4 separate regions of the Homo sapiens genome follow, and all the other regions are linked to region 3. The links are contacts of gene promoters, found by promoter capture Hi-C in human tissues and cell types (Jung and others, 2019). All regions are on one chromosome and are shown on one strand. The core of a region is centred on a gene start or on the middle of the fragment in contact, and the rest is flanking DNA. Distances in the headings are between cores, read along the strand shown. Region 1 overlaps CLIP1 (CAP-Gly domain containing linker protein 1). Region 2 overlaps CLIP1 (CAP-Gly domain containing linker protein 1). Region 3 holds the start of DENR (density regulated re-initiation and release factor). Region 4 overlaps MPHOSPH9 (M-phase phosphoprotein 9).

Region 1 (2,700 bases), core at 55-2,554, 430 kb after region 3:
GGCACAGTCATGGCTCACTGCAGCCTCAACCTCTCGGGCTCAAGTGATCCCCTTGCCTCAGCTTCCCAAGTAGCTGAGACTAAAAGCACGTGCCACTACACCTGGCTAATTTTTTATTTTTTGTAGAGACAGAGTCTCGCTATGTTGCTCAGGCTGGTCTCGAACCCCTGGATGCAAGCGATCCACCTGCTTCAGCTTCCCAAGGTGCTGGGATTGCAGGCGTGATTCATCGTTCCTGGCCAGTCTCACAAGGCGCTGGGGTTGCAGGCGTGAGCCACCATTCCTGGCCAGTCTCACAAGGCGCTGGGGTTGCAGGCGTGAGCCACCATTCCTGGCCAGTCTCACAAGGTGCTGGGATTGCAGGCATGAGCCACCATTCCTGGCCAGTCTCACTGATTTTGTTGGTTGGTTTTGTGCAAGAGTCATTGAGTTAAAAATGCCAGGACTGTTCCCCTCCAAACGTGTCTAGTATCTAATTTCAGTGGATCGTAATCAGTCCCAGACTCTTTGGAATAATCTAATGAAATCTACAGATATTTTTTCAGGAAAGTTTACGTGTGCACTCAACAAGGTTCCTGGAACCCATGAAGCCTCCTATTCCCTACTTTTAAGAGCCAGTGGGCTATAGCTGTGCTGCCTAATGTAGTAGCCACCAGCCATGTGAGGCCATTCAAATGTAAATTTGTAGCCAGTTCTGGTGGCTCACGCCTGTAATCCTAGCACTTTGGGAGGCCAAGGTGGGCAGATTGCCTGAGCACAGGAGTTTGAGACCACCCTGGACAACATCGTGAGACCGTCTCTACTACAAATACAAAAAATTAATTGGGTGTGGTGGCACACACCTGTAGTCCCAGCTACTCAGGAGGCTGAGGCAGGAGAATCCTTTGAGCCTGGGAGGCGGAGGCTGCAGTGAGCTGAGATGGTGCCACTGCACTCTGGCCTGGGTGACAGAGTGAGACTGTCTCAAAAAATAAATAAAAATAAAAACCTTAATATGGGAATATATGCGGTCTACATTATTTTCTCTATTTTTGTATATGCTTAAAAGAGGATCGCTTGAAACTGGGAGGCAGAGGTTGCAGTGAGCCGAGATCGCGCCACTTCCCTCCAGCCTGGGCCACAGAGTGAGACTCTGCCTCCAAAATAAATAAATAAATAAATAAATTTAAATTTGTTACATTTTAATTAAAAATTTAGCTCCTCAGTTGCACTCACCACATTTCAGGTGCTCAGTAGTCATATGGTCACCATGATGGGAGTGCAAATAAGAACATTTATATCAGCTGGGCGTGGTGGCTCATGCCTGTAATCCCAGCACTTCGGGAGGCCTAGGTGGGTGGATCACTTGGGGTCAGGAGTTTGAGACCAGCCTGGCCAACATGGTGAAACCCCGTCTCTACTAAAAATACAAAAATTAGCCGGGCACGGTGGCGGAGCCTTGTAATCCCAGCTACTTGGGAGGCTGAGGCATGAGAATAGCTTGAACCCAGAGGCGGAGGTTGCAGTGAGCCAAGATCGCACCATTGCACTCCAGCCTGGGCAATAGATAGAGCGAGACTCAGTCTCAAAAAAAAAAAAAAAAAATTATATCATTGCAGAAAGTTCTGGATAGCACTGGTATAGACACTGTGGTCAAATTATCTTATAATTCAGTAAATAAAAAAAAAAAACTATTCCTTTTAGTCAGCAAAGCCTAGAAATTAGGCTGTAGTTTTTAAGTTATATGTGATATTGGGACTAAATCACTCTCAGCCCCTCAGCTACCCTTAAGTAAGGTCCTGTGGTGAGTTTGGAAGGCAGTAGTTTATTTTCCCTTGTTATGCCCCTTCCTTTTTTCATTAAAATATACTGAGTTTTTGTACTTCTTTTAATTGTATTTTTAAAAATTGTTCTATGAATCCTTTCTGCTTTCAAAGTAATTTGATAATTGGAATGGCAGGAAAGAATCTTATGCCCTGATATTAAAATCAAGCTACTATTTTTATCTTCTAGGTAGCTACTGGGAATAATTTCACAAGTTGTTTCAAAGATAAAATAAGCTAACAGATACAGAAGCACTTTGCAAAACTACACTTTTGACTTACCTTTTTATGGGCTCTGTTTAGTTTCTTTCCCTTGTTATTCAGATAGTTTCTATAAAGTTTATTGTAGAAATTGTAAAGTTTTTATCATTTAGGTTACATTAAGTTATTTGGGCTTGCATTTGTCTGCTTGATTTCATTTTTGTTTCCATTCTTTCCATCTTTTGTTTCTGTAGTCGCTAACTTATTTGTTAACATCAGCCAAAAAAGAAATTGAACTAATGTCAGAAGAGCTGAGGGGTCTGAAATCAGAGAAGCAGCTTCTTTCTCAGGAGGGAAATGATTTAAAGTTAGAAAACGGTTCACTTTTATCCAAGCTTGTAGAATTGGAGGCCAAAATAGCTTTACTTCAGGGAGACCAGCAGAAACTGTGGTCAGTGAATGAAACTCTTAATTTAGAAAAGGAGAAATTCTTAGAAGAAAAGCAAGATGCCGAAAAGTATTATGAGCAGGAACATCTCAATAAAGAAGCTTTGGCTGTTGAGAGAGAGAAATTGCTTAAAGAAATCAATGTTGTACAGGAAGAACTCTTGAAGATAAATGTGGAAAATGACTCTTTGCAAGCTTCCAAGGTGAGCATGCAGGCACTCATTGAAGAGCTCCAGCTCAGCAAAGATAC
Region 2 (2,700 bases), core at 181-2,680, 390 kb after region 3:
TATTTTTTGGGCGGGGCATGGTGGCTCACGCCTGTAATCCCAGCACTTTGGGAGGCCAAGGTGGGCAGATCACGAGATCAGGAGTTCGAGACCATCCTGGCCAACATATTGAAACCCTGTCTCTACTAAAAATACAAAAATCAGCCAGGCAGGGTGGCGTGTGCCTGTAGTCCCAGCTACTCGGGAGGCTGAGGCAGGAGAATCGCTTGAACCTGGGAGGCGGAGGTTGTGGTGAGCTGAGATTGCGCCGCTGCACTCCAGCCTGGGCAACAGACTGAGACTTTGTCTCAAAAAAAAAAAAATTATACATTTTACTTATTTCAATAGGTTTTTGGGGAACAGATGGTGTTTGGTTATATGAATAACTTCTTTTGTAGTGATATCTGAGATTTTGGTGCGCCCATCACTTGAGTTTTTTATTTGTTTGTTTTGAGACAGAGTCCACCCCGTCACCCAGGCTGGACTACAGTGGTGCAATCTCGGGTTACTTCAGCCTTGACCTCTTGGGCTCAAGAGAGCCTCCTGCACCACCATGCCTGGCTAGTTTTTGTATTTTTTGTAGAGACGGGGTCTGTCCATATTGCCCTGGCTGGTCTTGAACTCCTGGGCTCAAGTGATCTGCCGCCTCGGCCTCCCACAGTGCTGGGATTACAGGCGTGAGCCACCACGTCCAACTCTTCATGTTTACTTTAATGGATCTGCCAAAGTTAGGTGCCTGTTTGATTTCCTTTCCCTTTGTTTGGCACGGTTTTATTAAATGGGCTTGTTCTATTGCTAAACTCCTCTGCTGTACATTTATCAGGTTGTGAAAATATTTATTTCCTTTATGCAGAATCTCAGCAACAGGTGAGCAATTCTGACTCTGTGTATCATATTGTCACCAGTGTGTGTTCTAAACCATCACTGAGGTTGTTAGCCTACATACATGTGACTGCTACGTGCTGGTGTGTAACCCCAGCTTAGCTGTAGAATTTCCAGGAATCCAACCGTAAGTTAGGAGTTGGGAGAACCTTTTGGTTATAGTTATTATTTCTTGTGATTAAGTTGTTTTTTGTTATTGTTCTTATTGTTCTCTAAAGGTATTTTCAGTGTCAACCCAAATATGGCTTGTTCGCTCCTGTCCACAAAGTTACCAAGATTGGCTTCCCTTCCACTACACCAGCCAAAGCCAAGGCCAACGCAGTGAGGCGAGTGATGGCGACCACGTCCGCCAGCCTGAAGCGCAGCCCTTCTGCCTCTTCCCTCAGCTCCATGAGCTCAGTGGCCTCCTCTGTGAGCAGCAGGCCCAGTCGGACAGGACTAGTAAGGCCCCTTTCTCACTACCTGCCTCCACTTCCCAGGCAGGATTAAGGCCCGTGGTCAGTGCCCCTGCTTTGCTGCTTTGCTGCTTTGCTTGTCCTTGTGCTGAATGTTGCTCACAGCTTTTGCTGTGAAAGTCTTTGCAAGTAAGTTTTGAAAAATGTAACTCCAGCAAGAATGCGTTTTTTGAAATCAGAAAGTGCTTTTAATAGTCCCTTTCAGATTCTTAAAAGCTTAAAAATGCATGTGTTCTTGGTGAATCTGTATAACTACTGCCTAGTCTAACACAGGGGTCAAATTATTTTCTATGAAATTATTTTAGGACAAAATGATAGGAACATTGGAGAGATCCTTTTCTTCAAGTCCATAGATCTGTCTCTCCCTCTCTCTCTTTTTTTTATTTTTTCTTTTGAGTCAGGGTCTCACTTTGTCACCCAGCCTCAACGTCCCAGGCTCAAGCAGTCCTGCTGCCTCAGCCTCCCCAGTAGTTGGGACTACTGGTGCACACCACCACGCCTGGTTAATTTAATTTTTTTTTTTTTTTTTTTTTTGTAGAGAGAGGGACCCACTGTGTTGCCCAGGCTGGTCTCGAATTCTTAGGCTCAAGCGATCCTCTTGCCCTGGACTTCCAAAGTGTTGGGATTTACAGGCGTGAGCCACTGCTCCCAGCCTCTCTTTCTCTTTGACTTCAAATAATTTTAGGAAGTGAAGTGTTTTGAGAAAAGGTGTGTTAATAGGATTTTAATGTTAATACAACCTGACCTACTGGAAGCAGTTAGTGTGTGAAGTGTCCCTGACTTGAGCCAGAGGACACTAAAGGGAACTCTTGGAGCTGGAAGAGGATACTAGGAAAGCCTGTTTTGATTACTCTCTTCTTTCCTCTTCTTCTCCTGGTCCCTTTCCCTCTCTCCCTCTTTTTCCTGTTTAGAGCAGTAAAAATAGAATCACTAGCATTAAAATAGGCAACACCTCATTCTGTTTATTAAGGTGTTATTTTATTAGGGTCAAAGCCCTGCCCATAAGTTTATTACCTAGAAGTGGGGCAAATACTGTTTAAGTTAGAAATGGCGGCATCAGACTTTCCTCAGACTGAGTTCAGGTCTCCGCTGGGTGGTGGGGAACCGCAGACCAGGAGCTAGGATGTTGCGTTGTGCTGCGGGGAGGAGGTGGTTAGCCCAGGATCTCACGGTGCCTGCTCTTCCATTGTCGTCGGGCAGAGAAGGGACAGGTGCTGAAATCTTCACGTGGGGCTGTGCTCCTCTGCCAGCCATCTAGGCTTCCTTCCTCTATGTTCAGGTAGAATAAGTACTGCTCAGAGCATTTCCATTTGCGCATAAAGAGGAAGCCTGCATCTTCAACAGAAAAATTACTTTTATGAGAAAAGCATGACAAGAACAATGA
Region 3 (2,700 bases), core at 173-2,672:
CACCAGACAAACTCAAAGCTGCTCACTTCTTCACAGACAGCCATCAAGCTTTTTCTTACATAGTCGTGCGCTTTGTCTGGGACGCCGTTCCCCACCTTCTCATCCAGTCCTTGCCATCCTTAACTCATAATCTTCCAAGAAGCCCTCCTTTGACAGCTAGACTAGCATACACCTTGAGGACCTTCAGGCTGAAATAACCTAGTTGCACATCCTGTTACAAATGGACTGTAAGCTTCTTCAGGCAGAGTAGCCAGACACAAATCACCCAGGTGGGGAAACTCTGTTAATTCATGCCTCCTCCTCCCCAGGACTCCTCTCCCCCAGTACAAACTCACCAAATGAAAAGGATGGGGAAGAAAGCTTACCAAATGTCAAACTGTTATTACAATGCATAAAAGTATAGTGAGTAAAAGTCATTCTGTGGCTACCAACACTTGCCTCCACAATAAAGGACTCGAAGTGGGTAATCGGCATCTAACTTGGCACTGTTCCTTGGGTCTCCTTTGCAGTCAGCCCCGCTGGATTCAGAAATGTCAGCAGCCATTTCACAAACCTGTAAGCAAGGAAAATAACACACCCTCACTATTTTAGAATCAAGACCCCAGAAGAGCAGTGTTCCTCTCAACAGAAACCTCCCCACCCCAAAGCTGTTTCAAGTCTGTTGTTGAGTGGGGGATACAAGCTGCATTCGATTCATAAAATATGAGCAATCCCAGGCACAACATCTCCTTGCTCCACAGGTCTACAGGGAAGCAAGCAGCAAATGGACCATGAAGGATGGGGCAGAGGGACTCACTAGAGAAAAACAGGAAGCAATGGGGAAGGAAAGATGGGGTGAGTACCCACGGCAGACACGGAGCAAAAAGGTCTGAGGGTGATCTGGGAGGGATGCAAACTGCAGTGAGAGAAGGGCTACAAAGGCGCCGAATGGAGAGAGGCTGGAAGTGCCTAGGAACAAGGGGTGGGTCATCGGAGAAGCCCGGGGTGCAGGGTGTGGGGGCAACTAAACGCCATGAGAGGGGCCTGGGGAGTCTAAAAAGGGCATGGGAGGGGGCGGGGTAACCAGAGCGTAAGAAGGATGAGGAGAGAAAACGAGCGCAGAATGTAAGAGCACTGAGGGGACAAGGGCGACCAGGTCTGAGGCGAAGGAGCAACCCCGGGGACGCCAGAAGGGGCCCTTGTGGGCGGGGGTGTGGAGAGGCCCGGCCCGGCCCCCTTCCGCCAGGCAGCATCTCAGCTTCCCCCACACTCTCTACGAGCTTCTCGGGAGCGGGAGAAGCACTTGGGGTCGTTACCCAGGCGGTCGCACAGGCCCCGCCGGCTCCGCTCCCGCCGCTATCGCCAGCTGAACCAACACATGCAACTCGTCTCCCCGGCCAGGGCCGCCCGAGCGCCCGACCGCCAGCAGCGCTCCCGCGAGACAATGAGCCTTTATCGCGAGATTCCGGCCGCCGCTGGGCGGATGTCGCGAGAAGCCGGAAGACGGGGGCGGAGAAAAATTGCGGAGCGTGCGCCTTGCCCTCCGGTGGGGGGCGTGGCCAAGAGGCCGAGAGGCGGGCCGCCGGCAGGCGGTGCTCGTCACCCGTTGGAGAGGATGAATCCTCGAGATGGGCGTGCCGAAGGGAACGTGACTTGCAGACGCAGAGAGCGCACCTGAGTCACAAATGACTCCCTATTAATGAGTCCGAGGATCATCGCCTCGGTGTCTGCGGTGCATCCTGGAGTCCTGACTAACCTCCAGCTACTGCATAAATCACTCCCGTGCGGGGAGATTGCAGCCGGATAGAGCGTTTGGTCGCATTTTAACACCATGCACTGAATTAAAGGAAGGTGTTCTCCCTCCCTCCCTCCCTCCCTTCCTTCTTTCCTTCCTCTCTTCTTTTCTCTCTCTCTTCGCCGGATGGAGCGTTTGGTTGCGTTTTAACACCATACACTAAATTAAAGGAATTCTTTTTTCTTTCTTTTCTGTTCTTTCTTTTCTTTCTTCTTTCTCTTCTTTCTGTCTCTTTCTTCCCCTTCCCTCCCTCCCTCCCTTCCTTCCTTCTTTCCTTCCTTCCTCCCTCCCTTCCTTCCTTCCTCCCTCCCTTCCTTCATCCTTTTCTTTATGTTTTGACAGGGTCTCACTCTGTCACCTAGGCTGGATGGAGTGCAGTTGCACAAACACGGTTCACTGCAGCCTCGACCTCCCAAGTAGTTGGGAATACAGGCGCGCGTTACCACACCCAGCTAATTTTTAATTTGTTTATAGAGGTGGGGGAATCTCCCTATGCTGTCCAGGCTGGTCTCGAACTCCCGGACTCAAGGGATCCTCCCGCCTCCGCCTCCCAAAGTGCTGGGATTACAGGCGTGAGCCACCGCGCCCGGCCTACAATTTTTTTTAATGAAAAAAAGAAAAATGTAAGAGTATGGGAATATATGGGGAAAAGAAAGATCAGATTGTTACTGTGTCTGTGTAGAAAGAAGTAGACATAAGAGACTCCATTTTGTTCTGTGCTAAGAAAAATTCTTCTGCCTTGAGATGCTGTTAATCTGTAACCCTACCACCAACCCTGTGCTTCCTGAGACCTGTGCTGTGTCAACTGAGGGTTAAATGGATTAAGGGCTGTGCAGGATGTGCTTTGTTAAACAAATGCTTGAAGGCAGCATGCGCCTTAAGAATCATCACCACTCCCTAATCTCAAGTACCCAGAGACACAATAC
Region 4 (2,700 bases), core at 36-2,535, 420 kb before region 3:
GCTGGGTGTGGTGGTTGGTGGTACGCGCCTGTAGTCCCAGCTGCTCGGGAGGCTGAGGTGGGAGAATCACTTGAGCCTGAGGGGTCGAGGCTGTACTGAGCCATGATCATGCCACTGCACTTTAGCCTGGGGGACAGGGTAAAACCCTGTCTCAAAAAAAAAAAAAGACATTTAAAAATGTGTATTAATACATTATGCCTTCTGTGTAATTAAATATATAAAAATTGGTCTTATAATTAAAAACAAATTTTGCAAGATCGGGCTGGGCACGTGGCTCACACCTGTAATCCCAGCACTTTGGGAGGCCAAGGTGGGCAGATCACTTAAGGTTAGGAGTTTGGCCAACATGGTGAAACCCCGTCACTTCTAAAAATACAAAAATTAGCTGGGCACAGTGGTGGGCCCCTGTAATCCCAGCAACTGTGGAGGCTGAGGCAGGAGAATTGCTTGAACCTGGTAGGCAGAGGTTGCAGTGAGCTGAGATCACGCCACTGCACTCCAGCCTGGGTGACAGAGGAAAACTCCATCTCAAGAAAAAAAAAAATTGGCAAGATCTTAGCATTTATTAAAACTGAGAATGGGTGAGTAGATGCTTGTTATAGTATTCTTTGTAATTTTCCAAGAATGTTTGAAGATTTTTTTTTTTTTTTAAGACGGAGTCTCGCTCTGTTGCCCAGGCTGAAGTGCAGTGGTGCAATCTCGGCTCACTGCAAACTCCGCCTCCTGGGCTTATGCCATTCTCCTGCCTAAGCCTCCTGAGTAGCTGGGACTACAGGTGCCCGTCACCACACCTGGCTAATTTTTATTTTGCATTTTTAGTAGAGACGGGGTTTCACCATGTTAGCCAGGGTGGTCTCGAGCTCCTGACCTCGTTATCTGCCCGCCTTGGCCTCTCAAAGTGCTAGGATTATAGGCATGAGCCACTGAGCCTGGCCCTGAAATAGTTCTTAATTTAAAAACTGGGCCGGGCGCAGTGGCTCACGCCTGTAATCCCAGCACTTTGGGAGGCCAAGGTGGGTGGATCACGAGGTCAGCAGATCAAGACCATCCTGGCTAATAACATGGTGAAACCCCATCCCTACTAAAAACACAAAAAATTAGCCGGGCGTGGTGGTGGGCGCCTGTAGTCCCAGCTACTCGGGAGTCTGAAGCAGTAGAATGGTGTGAACCCAAGAGGCAGAGCTTGCCGTGAGCCGAGATCGCGCCACTGCACTCCAGCCTGGGCGACAGAGTGAGACTCTGTCTCAAAAAAAAAAAAACTGAGGGAAAGAGTGACTGGAGTTGAAGTGAATGTAGATAGAAGAGGCAGCCTCTAAAATGTTTGGTTGTGAAAGGGGACAGAGAGAAAACAAGAGTTGTTTCATGGTTTCTGGTGTTTCTTTGAATTTGACTCAAAAGTTTCACCTGTCAACGAAGGTGGGATGGGAGGTTTGAGGAGGGTGGAAAGGGTGTGAGATAGTCATGTTTGGAGAACTGAAGCTTGCTGGTTACAGAAAGTCATGTTGCCGGCCGGGTGCGTTGGCGCACACCTGTAATCCCAGCACTTTGGGAGGCTGAGGTGGGCGGATCATGAGGTCAGGAGATCGAGACCATCCTGGCTAACACGGTGAAACCCCGTCTCTACTAAAAATACAAAAAAATTAGCCGGGCGTGGTGGCAGGCGCCTGTAGTCCCAGCTACTTGGGAGGCTGAGGCAGGAGAATCGCTTGAACCTGGGAGGCGGAGCTTGCAGTGAGCCGAGATCACGCCACCGTACTCCAGCCTGGGTGACAGAGCGAGACTCCGTCTCAAAAAAAAAAAAAAAAAAGAAAGTCATGTTGCCAGGCGGTCAGGCGGTTTGGGGTGTCCGCTTGAGGTGGTGATGAGTCTGCCCAGCTGGTGGCTTTTTTCCAGCAAAGCTCAGTGGTAGGAGTTGAGACCTGAAGCGCGGCCTTTGTAGTCAGCCAGTCCTCAGATTTTGCTGCCAGTCAGGTGTGGTGAAAGGTGAGAGAGAAAGTATCGTGAGTGTGGACTTCAGGGTAGATCAAGAGGACCTAGTCAGACTAGGAGGGGTTGATAAATGGAAAATGGAGAGGCCAAGGATCGTAGGTCACGTTGCTGAAGCTTGAGGGCGGGAGGCAGAATAGGGGCACAGTCTTTGGAGTATTGGTTTCTTAAGGGGAGTGTGTTCTCTGGTTTTGACAAAAGCCAGCAAGTACCCTCTGAGGTGGCTGGCTGAGGAGTAGAGGGTCACCTCACTGGAGAGAGTGGTCAGGAAGTTGCCTAGTGTGAGAACAGGCATAGGTGTGGAGAAAACAAGGCAGGCTCTAAAGTCTGGGGAATGACTGGGGGTTAACATGATGGTGGGAACCTCAGATGAGCTGGGGGAGCAATGTCTAGAATTGCGCTGTTCAGTACAGTCCTGCCAACAGCCACTATTACTATTTAAATCAATCATGTCAACCTAAAATCAGTGACAGAGACTGACTCTCCAAAGAAATTTATTTGGAAATGTTGGGGGTTTGCAAGCTGGAGTACGCATGCTGTGGTGAACCATAAGCATGTCCAAAGGGGTTGGGACACAGGAAACTTTAAAAGACAAAGGGCAGTCCACAGTCCACTAAGCTATTTTAAAACAAAGACCACTGGTTACAGGAGCATGTTGCAGGCATTAGCATTAGCTCAGTGGTGGAGACATCCCTTGTTAGGGATGTTTCCTTG

What was found. Contacts are between HindIII fragments. The study calls those that stand out against the background at their distance.
Region 1: a fragment that was not itself captured here is called in contact with the fragment with the promoter of DENR in region 3 in 2 of the 25 tissues and cell types used here (lymphoblastoid cells and mesenchymal stem cells).
Region 2: a contact is called between a fragment that was not itself captured here and the fragment with the promoter of DENR in region 3, in 1 of the 25 tissues and cell types used here (liver).
Region 4: a fragment that was not itself captured here is called in contact with the fragment with the promoter of DENR in region 3 in 1 of the 25 tissues and cell types used here (psoas muscle).

What each region holds. Positions count from the first base shown.
Region 1 is chr12:122,323,939-122,326,638 of GRCh38, reverse strand. All of the region lies in intron 17 of CLIP1 (CAP-Gly domain containing linker protein 1), which reads left to right. Among named protein-coding and RNA genes, the nearest start is that of VPS33A, 59 kb to the right of the region's middle. The HindIII fragment of the contact is 8,257 bases long and covers 1-2,700 here.
Region 2 is chr12:122,359,561-122,362,260 of GRCh38, reverse strand. It overlaps CLIP1 (CAP-Gly domain containing linker protein 1), which reads left to right. Exons shown (of 26, transcript NM_001247997.2): 5 at 1,080-1,302. Among named protein-coding and RNA genes, the nearest start is that of CLIP1-AS1, 35 kb to the left of the region's middle. The HindIII fragment of the contact is 6,251 bases long and covers 1-2,700 here.
Region 3 is chr12:122,751,546-122,754,245 of GRCh38, reverse strand. DENR (density regulated re-initiation and release factor) reads right to left here and starts at 1,422. Exons shown (of 8, transcript NM_003677.5): 1 at 1,296-1,422; 2 at 439-553. The coding sequence starts at 544. RefSeq lists enhancers at 914-973, 2,065-2,700 and a silencer at 1,114-1,163. The HindIII fragment of the contact is 19,306 bases long and covers 1-2,700 here.
Region 4 is chr12:123,167,449-123,170,148 of GRCh38, reverse strand. The region is part of intron 16 of MPHOSPH9 (M-phase phosphoprotein 9); the gene reads left to right. Among named protein-coding and RNA genes, the nearest start is that of PITPNM2, 18 kb to the right of the region's middle. The HindIII fragment of the contact is 3,215 bases long and covers 1-2,700 here.